Regions from separate parts of the Homo sapiens genome. Here all the other regions are linked to region 3. Evidence: promoter capture Hi-C in 16 types of primary human blood cells and fetal thymus (Javierre and others, 2016). All regions are on one chromosome and are shown on one strand. The core of a region is centred on a gene start or on the middle of the fragment in contact, and the rest is flanking DNA. Distances in the headings are between cores, read along the strand shown. Region 1 overlaps TMEM201 (transmembrane protein 201). Region 2 has its middle 12 kb from the start of PIK3CD. Region 3 holds the start of CTNNBIP1-AS1 (CTNNBIP1 antisense RNA 1).

The links. Contacts are between HindIII fragments. The CHiCAGO score rates a contact against its expected background, and 5 or more counts as called.
Region 1: a fragment that was not itself captured here is called in contact with the fragment with the promoter of CTNNBIP1-AS1 in region 3 in 8 of 17 cell types (M0 macrophages, non-activated CD4 T cells, naive CD4 T cells and 5 more); the score reaches 8.2 in M0 macrophages.
Region 2: a fragment that was not itself captured here is called in contact with the fragment with the promoter of CTNNBIP1-AS1 in region 3 in 1 of 17 cell types (fetal thymus); the score reaches 7.0 in fetal thymus.

What each region holds. Positions count from the first base shown.
Region 1 is chr1:9,609,725-9,613,165 of GRCh38, reverse strand. It overlaps TMEM201 (transmembrane protein 201), which reads right to left. Exons shown (of 11, transcript NM_001130924.3): 8 at 3,255-3,326; 9 at 2,361-2,660; 10 at 1,276-1,413; 11 at 1-180. The coding sequence ends at 83. Among named protein-coding and RNA genes, the nearest start is that of TMEM201, 23 kb to the right of the region's middle. RefSeq lists a silencer at 1,211-1,446. The HindIII fragment of the contact is 5,519 bases long and covers 1-3,441 here.
Region 2 is chr1:9,638,418-9,641,991 of GRCh38, reverse strand. It overlaps a transcript of PIK3CD not described here. Among named protein-coding and RNA genes, the nearest start is that of PIK3CD, 12 kb to the left of the region's middle. The HindIII fragment of the contact is 669 bases long and covers 1,899-2,567 here.
Region 3 is chr1:9,846,903-9,850,451 of GRCh38, reverse strand. It overlaps CTNNBIP1-AS1 (CTNNBIP1 antisense RNA 1), which reads right to left and starts at 2,134. Exons shown (of 3, transcript NR_199045.1): 1 at 1,986-2,134; 2 at 978-1,083; 3 at 298-466. It overlaps CTNNBIP1 (catenin beta interacting protein 1), which reads left to right. Exons shown (of 6, transcript NM_020248.3): 6 at 1-2,176. RefSeq lists enhancers at 230-279, 360-499, 1,634-2,135. The HindIII fragment of the contact is 10,320 bases long and covers 1-2,459 here.

The sequences.
Region 1 (3,441 bases), core at 308-2,807, 240 kb after region 3:
CCCTCCAGGGAGGGTCCTGAGGCCGGCAGTGGTGAAGCAGCAGGCACCGGGTTGCTCCCCTCCGAGGGGCTCCAACGGTGGGTCAGCGCAGGCTCTGGTACAGAAACACCGAGGTGAACAGGGCGTTGGCGGCCAAGCTCACGGCCAGGAGGCCCCGGACCAGGGAAGGGCCGAAACGACCTGCAAAGCAGAGACCTGGTCAGAACATTGTTTGGGTGGGTGGGTTCGCTGTGCAGCTGAGCAGCCCCCTAGAGCATGCAGTTTGTGGGGAGCTCAAGGCTCTGCCCAGGGTACTCTCTGAGACTGGTGAGGCTCACCCCCAATTCTTCTCTTGGCCAAAGGCTTCCCTAGCAGGAAAGACCCCCACTCCCTGCCTCCCTGAAGGCACAGCTTTTCCTAACCCTGAGCCGCCAGGAAGGCCATGGGCTGGGCTGTCATGAGCTGGGGCCTGGGTGATGAGGCAGTGACCACAATGGCCACTTTACAGATGAGGTCATGGGGGCTGGGAACAGGAGCACCCCATCCAGGCCTCCAAGGGAATAAGCAGCCAACCCAGGTCCACCTGCTGCATGCCGCAGCCTGCGTTCTCACCAAGGCCTCCAAGCTGCTGGGCCACCCTCCAGCCTGGGGCAGCACTGGCTTTGAGAGTCAGTGCAAAATGACCTGCCCAGGAAAAGCCCTGCTTGCTGATCTGTCCATCTCCCTCAACACACACCCCCTCCTCCCCACCCAGGGAGTGATGATGTGTACCACAGATCTGGTCTCTTGCCCCTGAGCCCCAGGGTTAGTGAGCAGAGAACCTGGGATCTGAGCCAGGCAGCTCGGCACCCGGTGCAGGCTGCAGCCCCAGCGTGACGTGGTCCCGGTGCACCCAGGCTCTCTGGGCACTTCCGGCCAGGATGGCAGCCTTCGGTATGTGTCCTAAATGCCAGCCACGGGCCACAGGTGCCTACTGAGCACTTGAAATGTGGCTAGTGCAGCTCAAGAACTACATTTCAAACTTTATTTAATTTTAATTCAGTTAATTTAAATAGCTGCCTGGGGCCAGAAGCTACTGGAATAGTGCAGATCGGGGCCCAAATCCCGAGAGGGGGAGTGCCGTCTACTGAGTCCCTGACCCTGGATTCAGAGGCGCCGGGTGGGTTACTTGTCGGCCACTCAGGGACTGCAATGTCCTGGAAGATTCTTTCTGTCAGTGCTCTGGACCCCCCTGGGGGAGATGGTGGCTTCGGATGTGTGCCCACCCCCTCCCCTCCCGCACCTCAGGGTACAGACCTCTCCAGGTGGCGGCCTCCTCCGAGCAGCCCCTGGTGGTGGTGTCCACCACACAGGTAGATGACTGGGAAGAGTCGTCCTCTTTCTTGATGGAGCGGTTGCTGCAGGCACTGCCTCTTTCCAGCTTGGATCTCAGGTCTGCAGAGAGAAGGGTGTGTTTCTCAGTGGCGCTCATGGCTCCCTCCAGGGACAGACGCGGGGCAGCTGTACTTCCACTCTAAGGACAGTTGTCAGAAGTGGTGAGCCAGGCTGTCCCAAGCCACTCATCCACCCTGGACAGTGGGGGGCCAGGTCCTTGCTCAACTGTCCTGCCACCTCTTGTCTGCCAGTATTCAGGCCCAAGGTGACCAGATCTCTGACATTGAAAGAGACGTGGGAAATCTAAACATTCGAGGCCGGGCGCAGTGGCCCACGCCTGTGATCCCAGCACTTTGGGAAGCCAAGATGGGTGGGTCACTTGAGATCAGGAGTTCAAGACCAGCCTGGGAAACATGGTGATATCCCGTCTCTACTAAAAATATAAAAATTAGCCAGGCATGGTGGCGCGCACCTGTAGTCCCAGCTACTCGGGAGGCTGAAGCAGGACAATCTCTTGAACCCTGGAGGAGGAGGTTGCAGTGAGCCAAGATCACGCCACTGCACTCCAGCCTGGGCGACAGAGTGAGACTGCATCTCGAAAAAAAAAAAAAAAGGAAATCTACAAATTCATGTGAAAGTTGAAAGTTGTAGGTTTTAAAGGCTGGGGGCTAACTATAAACATTTTAAATGCTTTGCAGTACAGCACCATTTGAGTGAAACTATCTGTGGCCACACGCACCTGGCAATGCGTGATGTGTTTTCGATCAGTTCCAAGAAACAGAGGACCCTGAAGGTCAACTGCAAAAGGAGAAACTGAAATCAGCCATTAGAGGTCAATGTCCCAGAGGGTTCAAGTCACCAGAGCCGGAATGGGGTGCCTAGAGCTCCAGGGTGGGAAGGCGCACACCGGAGTCAGAGCAAGGATGAGCCCCCCCACCGCCGCACAGCCAGGCCTCTTGGCAGCAGAGGCCCTCCCACGGCCCCTTGGGGTGGTCAGAAGGCCGTACCCAGGGCGTGCTTCACGTCCTGCAGGGGCGGCTTCCGGGGAACATGGGGCGGCTCCATGGTGAAGAGGCTGCCGTTGTGAGGCGAGTGCTCATCGGAGCTGCTGGGCGTGGTGGGGGCCTCTCCAGGGGGTGACGGGAACAGCAGCAGCTTCTGTCCCTTCAGGTTGAGCCGGGCAGGGCTGATGAGGGGCCTGCGGTGGCGCAGAGAGCCGGAGCTGGAGGCCACCGAGCCGGCCACGGAAGGCGCTGGGGAAGGGAGTGGGGAGGAGGGGCAGCTCCCCGACAGAAGAGAGAAGTAATCTGGAGGGAGGGAGGAAGATGATGTGAACGTGGGCTCCTGTCACTGCAACGCTACAATGCGCTATTTCATTTCTGGGGGCATTCTTCTATTAACCCGGGAAGACAGGAAAGGTGCAGAGACTGGGGACAGGGGGAAGTCCTGCTGCAAAGCTGAAGGAGGAGAGGTGCCCTCTACCAGGCACCTGAGGGAGAGGAGAGATCCCGGAGCCTCAGCCATGGCCTTCTGCCCTTGATTTCCATCCAAAGCCCTGGGTACCATCAGCTGAGAGCAAGGCCAGATAGCAGCAAACCCTGGAGGTACAAGGCCAGCTCACCCGAGGCCTTGCTGCCAGCTGGCACCTGGTGCACCAGTTCCAGCCGTGACTGCCACTGAGGACGGCAGAGCAGCATGGTACCATCTGATCCTAGAGACTGTCATTCCCATTTCACGCAAGAGGAAACTGAGGCACAGGTGTGTAGGTCACTTGCCCAGGGCTGAGATGTGAACACACACTTGGGGTCTGTCTGACCCCAAAGCTCACACAAACCACCATGCTCTGGAACGCCCGGGCTTCATGTTGCCCCGTCCCCCACTTAGCTCTCTGTCTTCCTCACCTGAAACAGGAAACTCCCCAGATCGAGACACCTGAGATGGTGGGCGGCTACCGCTGAACAGATAGCCGGAGTCTGGAGACAGAGAGAAGCGGGCGACACGTCAGGCCTGTGGATGACGTGCAGAGGCCCCCACAAATGCTCTGCCGAAATCCCAATCCAGCCTTTGCTCTTTACAAATGTGCTTTCA
Region 2 (3,574 bases), core at 984-3,483, 210 kb after region 3:
CAAGATGTCAGATGCATTTCTTACTGTAGGTTCCAGTCAACACAACTAGAAAGCTGCTGCCCTGGATCACGTGAAGTTGATGGCAAAGAAAGGGTGGAGCAGATGGTTAGAGAACAAGGCCAAGGTCAGATTCCACTCCTAGAAAGTCTGACTTGCAAGAACTCAGGTTCCAAGGAGGGCTGAGAGGTGGCCAGGTGGGAATACCTGGGGAAAAGGAGCTGGGAGTCTCTGGCCTTGTGCCCTCCATCCCCAGGTTGTGACCGATGGGCTGGAGAATGACTTAGAGGGTCAGGGGTTGTGGGTTTTGCAGGTGGAGGGGATGGTGCCCCTTATACTTGATTCTGGGCCAGAGCAGACAGCGCAGAGGTGGCCAGGTGCTCCAGGACTCCAGGGCTGGTGAAGATTGTGTTTCTGGGTCCAGCTAGATGGGGGCTCCCCAGAAATTCTTTCTGTAAAACACACATACTCAAAACCCAGGCTACCTAGGGTTCACATCCCTGCCCCACCATCTGTCGGCTGTGTGACCTTGAAGGAGTCACTTCTGCCTCAGTTTCCCCATCTGGCACAAGGGAACAATAATGTACCCTCTGACCCAGGGCTGGGGGAGGGTTCAATGAATCCCTAGTCCTGCTTCTGATACAAAGTTCAAGAGGTGGTGGAGGAAGTGGGGAAGCAGCAGAGTTTGGGGTCAGGCACCTGGATTCAACCTCATGCCCTCCATACACTGGAGGTGACCCGGGCTTTGCAACACTGATTCATCCAGCAAGTGTGTATCTTGCAGCAAGCTGTGCCTGATACAGTTGGGCTCTGGAGATGCAGCACTGGACAAGCCCCAGGCCTGCCGCCCCCGCAACCCCCTGGAGTTTATACTCAGTAAGGAAGAGAAACTAAGAAGAATAAAAATAAGATACAGTGTTGTGCTGCCGAAAAATGTAAGATAGGAGGGGAGAGACAGGGGAAGGGGGACTACAGAACTAGGAAGGCCTCCTTGAGGTCAGGACACTGGAGCTGAGCACGGACCTGGATGAACTGACGGAGGAGAAGCCGCGTGGGTCTCGAAGGCCAGAGCATCGCAGGCTTTGGGAAGAAATGGTGCAAAGGCCCTGGGCAGTGGTGGCATGCTGGAGGCAGGGAGGCCCAAGTTGGGTGCAGATAGCAAGGAGGATGCGGGAGGGGGCAGCTGAGGATTTGGATTTGACCAAAAGAGCACTGAAAAGCAGAGGGAAGGTTCCAGGCTGAGCCGGGGAGTGGCGGGACTGTGATTCACATGTGAAAAAGCCTGCAATAGACACCCGTACATTTCCTTGCTCAGTCAAATGGAAAGACCTAGAAGCAACAACACCCCAGGAGCAAGGAGAATGCACCAGCACACCAGCATCTTGATTTTCGTTTCTTTTTTTTTTTCTTTTTTTGAGACAGAGTTTTGCTCTTGTTGCCCAGGCTGGAGTACAATGGCACAGTCTCGGCTCACTACAACTTCCGCCTCCCTGGTCAAGCGATTCTCCTGCCTCGGCCTCCCAAGTAGCTGGGATTACAGGCGCCCACCACCACGCCTAGCTAATTTTTGTATTTTTAGGAGAGATGAGGTTTTACCATGTTGGTCAGGCTGGTCTTGAACTCCTGACCTCAGGTGATCCACCTGCCTTGGCCTCCCAAAGTGCTGGGATTACAGGTGTGAGCCACCGTGCCTGGCTTGGATCTTGGTTTCTGATACCATTTTCCTCCACAAAAGGAACCAGGGCTCCCTGGGGAAACTGGCAATTCTAGGATGAGGGCAAGAAACGGACAGATGAAACTGGAGCATCTTAAAGTTCCAGAAAGAAAAGAAGTGCTTCCAAACAAAACACCACAATGATGGGTGCATATCTCGGGGGTCACAGCGATGAACTGAAAAAGCTTCCAGTGGCCAAAGCTAGAACAACTTGAGCAATGAAAGAAAGAAAGAAAGGAGGTCGGGCACGGTGGCTCCCACCTGTAATCCTAGCACTTTGGGAGGATGAGGCAGGAGGATTGTCTACACTGAGGAGTTCAAGACTAGCCTAGGAAACATAGTGAGCCCTCGTCTCCACTAAAAATAAAAACAAATTCAAAAAAATTAGCCAAGCATACTGGTGGGTGCCTGTAATCCCAGCTACTCGGGAGGCTGAGGCACAAGAATCGCTTGAACCCGGGAGGCAGAGGTTGCAGTGAGCCACGATCGCGCCACTGCACTCCAGCCTGGATGACAGAGCGAGCCTCTGTCTCAAAGAAACAACAAACAAACAAACAAAAACCCTGAAGATAACGGTTGAGGTTGAGGGGCAGGCAGAGGCAGAGCCCCAGAAGAGGGAGGCGCAAAACTCCAGAAAGCGAGGCCTTATTCTCCCAGCCCTGCCCTGGAAATTCTGTCCTTGGGGCCGGGGTGGGGGGCTCAGCCTCCCCTTCTGGGGGCCCTGAAATGCAGCCCTGCCCCCAACCCTTCAGTCTGTTTCTTCTGTAAAAATGAGGTTAGTTACTCCAACTTCAGAGAAGTTGTGAGGCTAAAAATAGACGTTTTAGCAAAAGTGGTTTAGAGACGAGTAAAAGCTTTGCAAATAGGTTACCCTCTCGGGGGTGCTCAGCAGGATGGAGCTGGGCCCTGCCCCATCCACCACTACCTAGGGTGCTCCTGCTCCAAAAGCCTCTATCTCTCTAGATAAATACCCACTCTCGGTAGTTAGCCCTCTATCTTGAAAAGCACCTAGTGTGAGGAGTAACCCCACGTGAATCCCCAAAATCCTCTATGAGAAGGAATAGAGATGGTTACTTTTTCCCAGGACAGAAAGACAAGGATGAAAAAGTGTACATGCAGGAGAGGGAGAAGGTTTAGGATTAGAAGAAACCATTTCCCACATGTAGTGAGTTGAATGGTGGCCTCTAAAAAGATACGTCCAAATCCTAATCCCAGGCCGGAGGCGATGGCTCACGCGTGTAATCCCGACATTTTGGGAGGACAAGGTGGGCAGATGGCTTGAGCCCAGGAGTTTGAGACCAGCCTGGGCAACATGGCAAAATCCCATCTCCACAAAAACTAGCAGGGCATGGTGGTGGGCACCTGTAGTCCCAGCTCCTCCTGAGGCTGAGGCGGGAGGATCACTTGAGCCCAGAAAGCAGAGGGTGCAGTGAGCCGAGATCACACCAAGGCACTCCAGCCTGGGCGACAGAGCAAGACTCTGTCTCAAAAAAAAAAAAAAAATCTTGCAAAAGGGTCAGATGATTGAAGTTTTTTTTTTTTTTTTTTTGAGAAGGAGTCTCGCTCTGTCACCCAGGCTGGAGTGCAGTGGTGCAATCTCGGCTCACTGCAAGCTCCGCCTCCCGGGTTCTGGCCATTCTCCTGCCTCAGCCTCCCAAGTAGCTGGGACTACAGGCGCCCGCCACCACACCCCGCTAACTTTTTGTATTTTTAGTAGAGACGGGGTTTCACCGTGTTAGCCAGGATGGTCTCAATCTCCTGACCTCGTGATCCGCCCGCCTCGGCCTCCCAAAGTGCTGGGATTACAGGTGTGAGCCACCGCTCCCGGCCTAGATGATTGAAGTTTTTATAGCATCGGAAGCG
Region 3 (3,549 bases), core at 885-3,384:
AACCTTTTATTTTTATTTCTGACTCTTATTTTTTAAAAAATTTGCGCCTCGGTATCTGGCTTCCCTGGAAGCTCTCCGAGCTCTGGTGCTTTAGTTAGGTCATTTTTTTAGAAATGTGAAGAGGTCTGATTGGCTGCTTAAACTGGAAAGGATCTGTGATTGGCTGGTTAATGGGAAACGGTTTTTTTCTTTGGCTGCAGGTGTTCTGCTGATATCAACAGCTTCCCTATTTTGAATGCAGAAAACAGGGTCTGGGACATTAGTCGTTATATTTGACTTGAAAAGAAAGAAACCAAGTGCGCTTTGCAATATTTATTACACAAAGAACTTGCTGCTGCCTTCACATTTGGGGTTTGTGTTTGATTGGCTTTCGATGCGTGTGTTTGGTTTCCCATTGGTTCACCTGTGACTCCTGTTGCCATGGATTCACCCCCCTCTGCTGCCGGCTCTGGGCCTGAGGGTCCACCTGGAGAGTACATTTGCTTTAATGAGTGCACCTGCCTCCACCAGCAAGGGGACCCCGAGAACCCTGAGCAGGGTCCACAGCTGGAAAGTTGGGCCCCTGAGGAGCTTTGTGTCGTCTTGAACGAGCAGCCCAGGGCCTAGAGGTAACCGTTAGGCGGGATTTATGTGCACTGCCTGCATGAGCTGGCAACCAGCCAGCGTCCCTTGGTGAGAAAGGGATTGCTGAGGCACCGTCCAGGCCCCACCGGCCAGGCCGCGCCCAGCAGAGGCGTACTACCCAGCTCTGTCCTCTTGGCCATCCTTCTGTGTACCACTTCCTGAGGCCTCATTTTGGGGGTCATCTTGGAAAGGGGAGGAGCTTCTCCCAGTGTGAGACCCCAAAGACTCTGGAGGTCATCTGGCGGAGGTCTCTGGGAGCCCAGAACCCACATAAAAGCCCCAGCTTGGCTCACAAGGCCCAGGAGACCTCCAGCTAAACACCAACCCCTGACCTACCCCAGCCAGGCTCCTACCTGTCTGCTGCCAGCACAGTAGGTCCCGGCCAGCTCTGGAGTTCTCTCATCGGAGGCCCATGCCCTCCACTCCACTGCCTTTGGAAGGGTCTCTCTCCAGGTCAGCCTGGAAGGGACAGTATCGTTTGTTTATGAAATGCCACTGGGACAGCTGGCTGGGCCTTCACCAAGCAAGTCCCTTCAGACTGGCCCTTAAGCCAAACTCAGGCCCAGAATTGCAGTTCAGAATGGCAGTCCTGGAGGCAGGGGGTGAGGGGCAGGTCTAGTGTTCCTGCACCAAACCTAAGTCCTTCCACCTGCCACCCCCTTCCCTGGGAGGGAGGTGGTCCTCCTATCTCCCTGGCTCACTGGCAGGTGTGGGATCTGGGGAGAGCGGCTGGAGAAAGATGCAGTCCTCAGGAAGGGGGCCGCCACCCTCCCCTATGCTGGTAGATGCTGAGGCCCCTAGGTGCCCAGGGCCAGTGGGACCCTCTCAGAACCAAATCTTTCCCCTTTCTCGGGGCTTGGGGCTCGGGCCGTAGGGGCTCCTGAGTGTCATGAAGTGCACAGGAGCCAAATGACCGAGCCCTGGAGAGCCCCATGGTGGGTAGGTGGTTCGTGCTGTGCTCTGGCACCATCAGCCTGTTCCAGAAGGAGGATTCGAGCATCAGGCTAAGACCCTGTGTCCTCCACCATGCACTCACCCCTAGCCCTGGTTAGCTGACAGTCAGCTGTGGGGAACACAGCTACAACCCTACCCTGGCAGGGACCTGAGAGCATCTCAGGAGGGGCAGCGCATGTGTGCATGTGCTGTGTGAGTGAGCACACCCGTGTGCACACTCATACACATGTGCACACACACGCACTCTCCCCGCTCAGGGGCCTGGAGGTCTGGCTGAGCCCCTGGGGAAAGGTGAGTTCTTTCATCTCCCTCCTCCAGGTCGGAGTGCCTGGAGTCAGGTGTCGAGGCCACATTGCTGGCTGCCCCCTCTTTGTAGCTCCTATAAAGGGCCCACACCTGGTGGATACCTGGTTGAGTGTGTGGTCTCTGCCCCAGCCTGTCCTTGTCACGATCACAGGCCTTGCTTTTGTAACAATGATGACCCCGGCCTGTCTCATCTTCTGAAGAGGAAAAGTCAAAGTGTTGCTGTGGCTCCATATTTCAACTAAAAATATATCTGTTGGAGAAAGAAATTAACAATAAAGAATTTTCATAGGTTCGTGTGTGAGCTGAGCTGGTTTCTCCCTCGGAATCAGGCGCTCTGACTGATTTCCCCACATCACGTGGGCTCTGCTGCTGCGGGGGCCCCTCCTTCCCAGGGAGGCGCAGCCAGGAAGGACAACACCAAGTTTGATAAGTGTCTGTGACCTGAGTTGAGCTCAGGGTTTGGAAGAATTTCTAGATCTACCCAGCCCAGCTCAAGGGTCGTTAAGAAGGTTGAACCTTCTTTTTGACCTGGAGATTCTAAACATCATTCCAGATTCAACTGAGATCAGTAAGCTTCAGAGGCAACCTCGTCTTCCACACCTATGAAAAGACACTAAGCACTCCGTAAGGATGTGGGGACCCCGCCATCCTAGGCACCCCAACATCCTGATGTGATGGCACCAGTTTTAAAATGCTTGTTACAGACACCCAAACAGAATATCTGTCCCTTCCACCATCCCAGAAGTGGAAGATATATTGGTTTTTAGCTGTATGTACAAGTTTGGAAGCTGAAATCATTTCTGCTTCAATAATTTTTGCTTCAGAAGCATTTTCTAGAAATTTTCATTTCCACCCTTCATAATCCCATTTTTGGGTCTTTTTTTTTTTTTTTCTGTTTACATAGTCTCACTGCTTCTATTTCCTTTTCAAAGAATTTCACTGGGTCCTAGAGGCTATGGAGTTTACAGAATATGAGTACAATGGCACAACCAACATCATTAAGTCTTTGTGTTGGGGGAGATACTGGGTCTTGTAGCAGCCCACGCAGTAGCTAGATGCACAAGCCCCTCTGAAACATTTCTGAAAAGACCTTGTCCAGGCTTTGCTTGAATACTCTCTCGAGTTGGGGAGCTCACTACCTCACAAGTTAGTCCAGACCATGTTCATGTAACCTATGCTTATCCTTACATTAAGTTGATCTGCCTCTTTCTGTAACTTCTTGTCCAGAAAGGAGTTTGCAGTCATTGAGAGAAAGACAGAGATTGCTGTGTTAACCAGAAGTTACATAGAGACACACATCCAAGGGTCCGTGGTAGGTAGATTATGTGCAGATTCCACCCCTTGCCCAGCGCTCTGAGTGACACTGTCAGCCTTGTAGTTAATCAGCTCTTCTAAGCTGAGCCACTGAGTAGTTCAAGGGACTGACCGGCTGGCCCTGGTCCCACCTGCCCAGCCCCCAGCAGAGAGCTTGGAAACCGGAGCCAAGCGGGGTCGTCCTCCTGGCGCTGTCTAACCTGTCTAAGCTGCCTAAACTGTCATGGGAAGTAGGCCACGTAAATGAGTCGGGGACACTTCAGCAGGCAAAGGAAAAACACTGGGGACAGCCTTGGGTCTTTCGGGGTCCGTCAGCCCACACAGCAGGCAACCTCCTGGGTCACCTTCCCA